Linked DNA regions of Homo sapiens: region 1 is linked to region 2. Evidence: promoter capture Hi-C in human tissues and cell types (Jung and others, 2019). All regions are on one chromosome and are shown on one strand. The core of a region is centred on a gene start or on the middle of the fragment in contact, and the rest is flanking DNA. Distances in the headings are between cores, read along the strand shown. Region 1 overlaps LOC102724687 (a long non-coding RNA gene). Region 2 holds the start of CRH (corticotropin releasing hormone).

What was found. Contacts are between HindIII fragments. The study calls those that stand out against the background at their distance.
Region 1: a fragment that was not itself captured here is called in contact with the fragment with the promoter of CRH in region 2 in 1 of the 25 tissues and cell types used here (hippocampus).

The regions. Positions count from the first base shown.
Region 1 is chr8:66,375,446-66,378,977 of GRCh38, reverse strand. All of the region lies in intron 1 of LOC102724687 (a long non-coding RNA gene), which reads left to right. Among named protein-coding and RNA genes, the nearest start is that of RRS1-DT, 52 kb to the left of the region's middle. The HindIII fragment of the contact is 3,476 bases long and covers 1-3,312 here.
Region 2 is chr8:66,176,727-66,179,848 of GRCh38, reverse strand. CRH (corticotropin releasing hormone) reads left to right here and starts at 1,385. Exons shown (of 2, transcript NM_000756.4): 1 at 1,385-1,556; 2 at 2,358-3,122. The coding sequence starts at 2,372. The coding sequence ends at 2,962. RefSeq lists an enhancer at 2,430-2,499. The HindIII fragment of the contact is 9,798 bases long and covers 1-3,122 here.

The DNA of each region.
Region 1 (3,532 bases), core at 325-2,824, 200 kb before region 2:
TCAAAGTGTGTCTGCCATCTCCTTGCATATGCATACATACACATGTTCTAGTAATTGTCCTAGAAGTGGAATTACGAGGTCAGAGGGAATCCATATTTAAATTCTGGTGCATTTCACAAATTTCATCCAAAGAGGTTTTACCTATTTATACTCCTTTACAAGCTTCTTTTAAATCAGATTGTCATTTCTTTGTGTCTGTTATTTTCCAGTGCATCTTGTCTTGTGGCTGTTTGAGAGAAGCCTTGTCAAAGACCCTTTATGGAATCACTTCCCTGAAGAAACAAGTTCCTGCGGGGGCAGGAGCTCAGGCCATTGCTGGCGGTGCTCCTGCCACTGCGACATCTGCTACCCGCACAGCTTGTATTCATTATACTGATGTGACAGGTTATCTGGGCAGGGGGAGCAGAGCAGAGGAACAGGGCAGAGACCCGATGGCTCGCCTTGTGAATATTTAAAAGCCATTTAAATAGATTTCTTTTTATCCCCTAATTTCCTATTGATGACAGCCCTGAAACTACTTATCTCATTTTTCAAATCAAAGCTTCCTAAAGCAAAATGGCTTGGAGACTGAACAGCTCTTGAAGCTCTGTTAATGACAGGATGGGGGTGAGAAGACCAATAAATTGTTTAGGGAGTGGAAAAGTACTTCAGACTTCAAACCCCCTCTCCCTTCAGCCAACCTCTTCGCAGGCTGCGGCTCTGAGAGGGTGTCCTGGCACAGTCTGGAGCCTTGGTGCATGTCATCTCCCTCAGCTTTAGGAACCAGAGAGATGTGGGCTGGAATCTGGCCCCAGCTGTTGTTACCTGTATGACCTTGGGCAAGCAGCTTCACTTCTCTCTGTTTGCTGTCTGTAAAGCCTTTGGTGTCCCCTTTGAGTTAATCATATATGTCTGCCAGGGTCGTCTTTGGGATGAGTGATAATTCTTTGTTTGTCACTGGCAAATCATGTGCCAGTTTTATTCTTCATCTACTGTGGTAGCTGCTGAGTTTCCACAGAGTGGCATCGGGGCGCTCACTTTCACAAGTGGCATCTGGCTGATCACTTCCACAGAGTGGCGTCTGGGTGATTACTTCCACAGAGCAGTGTCTGGGGCGCTCACTTCCACAGAGCAGTGTCTTGGTGCTCACTTCCACAGGGCAGTGTCTGGTTATTCACTTCCACAGAGCGGTGTCTGGGGTGCTCACTTCCACAGAGTGGTGTCTGGGTGTTCACTTCCACAGAGCAGTGTCTGGGGTGCTCATTTCCACAGAGCAGTGTCTGGAGCGCTCACTTCCACAGGGCAGTGTCTGGTTGATCACTTCCACAGAGCAGTGTCTGGGGCACTCACTTCCACAGAGCGGTGTCTGGGTGATGACTTCCACAGAGCAGTATCTGGGCGCTTACTTCCACAGAGCAGTATCTGGGCGCTCACTTCCACAGGGCAGTGTCTGGTTGATCACTTCCACAGAGTGGTGTCTGGGGCGCTCACTTCCACAGAGCAGTGTCTGGGTGATCACTTCCACAGAGCAGTGTCTGGAGCGCTCACTTCCACAGGGCAGTGTCTGATTGATCACTTCCACAGAGCAGTGTCTGGGGCACTCACTTCCACAGAGTGGTGTCTGGGTGATCACTTCCACAGAGCAGTATCTGGGTGCTCACTTCCACAGGGCAGTGTCTGGTTGATCACTTCCACAGAGCAGTGACTGGGGCGCTCACTTCCACAGAGCAATGTCTGGGGTGCTCACTTCCACAGAGCAGTGTCTGGGTGATCACTTCCACAGAGCAGTGTCTGGGGCACTCACTTCCACAGAGCGGTGTCTGGGGCACTCAATTCCGCAGAGTGGTGTCTGAGTGATCACTTCCACAGAGCAATGTCTGGGGCGCTCACTTCCACAGAGCCGTGTCTGGGTGATCACTTCCACAGAGCAGTGTCTGGGGCACTCAATTCCGCAGAGTGGTGTCTGAGTGATCACTTCCACAGAGCAATGTCTGGGGCGCTCACTTCCACAGAGCCGTGTCTGGGTGATCACTTCCACAGAGCAGTGTCTGGGGCGCTCACTTCCACAGAGCAGTGTCTGGTTGATCACTTCCACAGAGCAGTGTCTGGGGCGCTCACTTCCACAGAGCAGTATCTGGAGCGCTCACTTCCACCGAGCAGTGTCTGGTTGATCACTTCCACAGAGCAGTGTCTGGGGCTCTCACTTCCACAGAGCAGTGTCTGGTGTGCTCATTTCCACAGAGCAGCGTCTGGGGTGATCATTTCCACAAAGCGGTGTCTGGGGTGCTGACTTCCACAGAGCGGTATGTGGGACTCTCACTTCCACAGAGCAGTGTCTGGTTGATCACTTCCACAGAGCAGTGTTTGGGGCGCTCACTTCCACAGGGCAGTGTCTGGGTGATCACTTCCACAGAGCAGTGTCTGGGTGATCACTTCCACAGAGCAGTGTCTGGGTGATCACTTCCACAGAGCGGTGTCTGGGGCGCTCACTTCCACAGAGCGGTGTCTGGGTGATCACTTCCACAGAGCAGTATCTGGGTGCTCACTTCCACAGGGCAGTGTCTGGTTGATCACTTCCACAGAGCAGTGTCTGGGGCGCTGACTTCCACAGAGCGGTGTCTGGGGTGCTCACTTCCACAGAGCAATGTCTGGGGCGCTCACTTCCACAGAGCAGTGTCTGGGTGATCACTTCCACAGAGCAGTGTCTGGGGCTCTCATTCCACAGAGCAGTGTCTGGTGTGCTCATTTCCACAGAGCAGCGTCTGGGGTGATCATTTCCACAAAGCGGTGTCTGGGGTGCTGACTTCCACAGAGTGGTATGTGGGACTCTCACTTCCACAGAGCAGTGTCTGGTTGATCACTTCCACAGAGCAGTGTTTGGGGCGCTCACTTCCACAGGGCAGTGTCTGGGTGATCACTTCCACAGAGCGGTTTCTGGGCTGCTCATTTCCACAAAGCGGTGGCTGGAATGATTGTATGGTGATGTTGTGTTGGCATGGTAGGTGTTGGAGCTTTGAGGCTGTGCCCCAGGGCTGTTTACACAAGACTGAAAAAACATCAATTACTCATTTCAAAGTCTGGGGGTGAGGTGGTGATGGACATTGAATGGGATGGACATTGAATGGGGGCTCTAAAGCCTCCAGAGGTCCCCTTGGTGCATCCATTACTCATCTACTTTAGTTCCATAAAACTTGGACAAGTTACTTAATCTCTCTTTCCTTCAATTGTTTTTTTCTAAATTGCTGAAATGAAGGTAATAGTAGTCTCTACTGCATACAGCCCCTATAAGGGTTCATGAGAGTGTCATGTCCCCCTTGCCTGCTCTATTTTTCCTTTTGTTCCCTTTCAGAATCTTGCTCATTTTACAGTTTCCTTGTTTCTCTTTGTAATTGATTTCCCTTTTCCGATGGAATTTTGTTTCTCTCACCGCTCTTTATCACCTAGCACCATGCCTGGCACATAGCAGGTTCTAAATATTTGTTGAATGAATGAATATGGGATGCATAGAACAGTGCCTGAAACATAGTAAGCACTCTATAAATGTCAGCTACCT
Region 2 (3,122 bases), core at 136-2,635:
CGATAAACAACTCTGATGGTTATCTGGAAGCTGAATTGAATCACAGGCACAAGAACTTGGAATTGCATTTTGAATTGCAGAATTAGAGGTAACTGCCTCCCACCTATATGATAGTGTCAATTAATCAAAAATTGAATATAGTTTTACAGGCTTAGCATTCCATTCCATTCTGCGACATGTCAGAGAGCATTTATTTATTTAACAGGCTGACATGAAGCACATTTGGATTTGGAAAAAGAAATAATTAAAAAGAACCACCCTGGGTGGCCCAGATGTGGATACTATTATGGATGTTGATAGTATTTGGAGGTGAAATGAACGAGTTTTTTTTTACAGACTCAATATTGACCAATGAAAACATGTAACTAATGAATTTAGCCCTGTAGTCAAGCAGTTTAAGCCTTTTTCAACATAGATTAGGAAGTTAGAATGGATGCCTCTCATTGAGTTTGCATTCAGTAGAATAAGTAAAGCTTGTTTAACTCATGCATCTCTCACTGGCCGCCTCTCTCTTTAATTTGGGAATAGAAAAGGGAGTCCACAATTAATTTTAGATTGTGAGAAGAGAGACAAAAAAAGGAGCAGAGAGTTTCTGAGATAACCTAAAATCTTTGCCGCACCCCTTACTAACCCCGGTTTGTGCCCCTTCACTATGGGAGTAGCTCTTGTCATCATCTAAAAAACTTGAACTGCATTTTGAGAGATTTATTGGCCTTGCTTCTGCAGGCTCATAACTCCTTTATGTGCTTGCTCTTGGGAGGAAAAAGCAGATAGACGTTTAAAAGCTGGATGTTCCTGCACACCCCTCTCCTGATGCTTCATTCTTTTCCAGGCAGAAAGATGGTGGGACTCTGTCTCTAGCAAAGGGATATTTCCAGATACTGAGGTGTTGTCAGAGACACCTGGTCAGGGAGGTTAGGAGAAGGGGCATCCAGGTCCACCCCCTCCAACTGGCTGCTGCTTTCCTGGCAGGGCTGCACTGGGACACCTCACTTCCTTCCCACTTCCCCTTCCTCCTCCCATTCGCTGTCTCTTTGCACACCCCTAATATGGCCTTTCATAGTAAGAGGTCAATATGTTTTCACACTTGGGAAATCTCATTCAAGAATTTTTGTCAATGGACAAGTCATAAGAAGCCCTTCCATTTTAGGGCTCGTTGACGTCACCAAGAGGCGATAAATATCTGTTGATATAATTGGATGTGAGATTCAGTGTTGAGATAGCAAAATTCTGCCCCTCGTTCCTTGGCAGGGCCCTATGATTTATGCAGGAGCAGAGGCAGCACGCAATCGAGCTGTCAAGAGAGCGTCAGCTTATTAGGCAAATGCTGCGTGGTTTTTGAAGAGGGTCGACACTATAAAATCCCACTCCAGGCTCTGGAGTGGAGAAACTCAGAGACCAAGTCCATTGAGAGACTGAGGGGAAAGAGAGGAGAGAAAGAAAAAGAGAGTGGGAACAGTAAAGAGAAAGGAAGACAACCTCCAGAGAAAGCCCCCGGAGACGTCTCTCTGCAGAGAGGCGGCAGCACCCGGCTCACCTGCGAAGCGCCTGGGAAGGTAGGGAGCGCCTGGACGGAACACGCCACCAACTTTGCGTTGCCTGAGCTGCCGCGATGTGCGCCGCGGAGCCGGCTGCCCCTGCCTGTGTACGTGTGTATGCATGTGTGTGCGTGCGTGTGTGTGTGTGTATGCATGTGTGTATGCGTATGTGTGTGTGTGTATGCGCGCGTGCGTGCGTGTGTGTGTGCGCGCGTGTTCGCGGACTATTCCTTAAGATTACAATAGTAGCTGGGATGTGGCAAAAGCAAACTTAGACGGCTGCTCTTCGTTACCCGTGCTGCCAGTTGCTCCTTGCTGGCTGTGTAAAGGAGCTCCCCCACCCCCTTCTATCCTAACCCCCGAGATAAGGCAGCAAGGGCAGAAGTGGAGAGGGAGGACCATGAGGCAGTAGTTCTCAATTTGGAAGAAAATGCTGAAATATCCGGAAGGGAGGTAGTCAGCGCGGGTGGGATCTTAAATCTGTGGCTCTTCTCTAGGATCGGGAAAATTAGTTTTGAGGATCGTTAGGAAGAGGACGCAGGGACCGTCCTTTCAGAGTCTAGAAAGAAGGGTCACTCCTGGCCGGTGAGCGCATGAGCTTAGGTGCGGAGCCCTGCAGGCGCCCCCTTTCCCCGCTCCCCAGGCGCTTCAGCACCGCGGACAGCGCCCATCCGAATCACTGAGGCCAAAGCCCAGCACGTCTAAGGCAGTCCCGTAGGAAGACCCCGTGTGCACCTCCCAGCTGAGCGAACTCTAACCAACTCTTTCTTTCTCTCTTCCCCTCTCTCATTCCGCCCTCCGCCCACCTCTGTGCCGCAGCGAGTGCCCCTAACATGCGGCTGCCGCTGCTTGTGTCCGCGGGAGTCCTGCTGGTGGCTCTCCTGCCCTGCCCGCCATGCAGGGCGCTCCTGAGCCGCGGGCCGGTCCCGGGAGCTCGGCAGGCGCCGCAGCACCCTCAGCCCTTGGATTTCTTCCAGCCGCCGCCGCAGTCCGAGCAGCCCCAGCAGCCGCAGGCTCGGCCGGTCCTGCTCCGCATGGGAGAGGAGTACTTCCTCCGCCTGGGGAACCTCAACAAGAGCCCGGCCGCTCCCCTTTCGCCCGCCTCCTCGCTCCTCGCCGGAGGCAGCGGCAGCCGCCCTTCGCCGGAACAGGCGACCGCCAACTTTTTCCGCGTGTTGCTGCAGCAGCTGCTGCTGCCTCGGCGCTCGCTCGACAGCCCCGCGGCTCTCGCGGAGCGCGGCGCTAGGAATGCCCTCGGCGGCCACCAGGAGGCACCGGAGAGAGAAAGGCGGTCCGAGGAGCCTCCCATCTCCCTGGATCTCACCTTCCACCTCCTCCGGGAAGTCTTGGAAATGGCCAGGGCCGAGCAGTTAGCACAGCAAGCTCACAGCAACAGGAAACTCATGGAGATTATTGGGAAATAAAACGGTGCGTTTGGCCAAAAAGAATCTGCATTTAGCACAAAAAAAATTTAAAAAAATACAGTATTCTGTACCATAGCGCTGCTCTTATGCCATTTGTTTATTTTTATATAGCTTGAAACATAGAGGGAGAGAGGGAGAGAGCCTATACCCCTTACTTAGC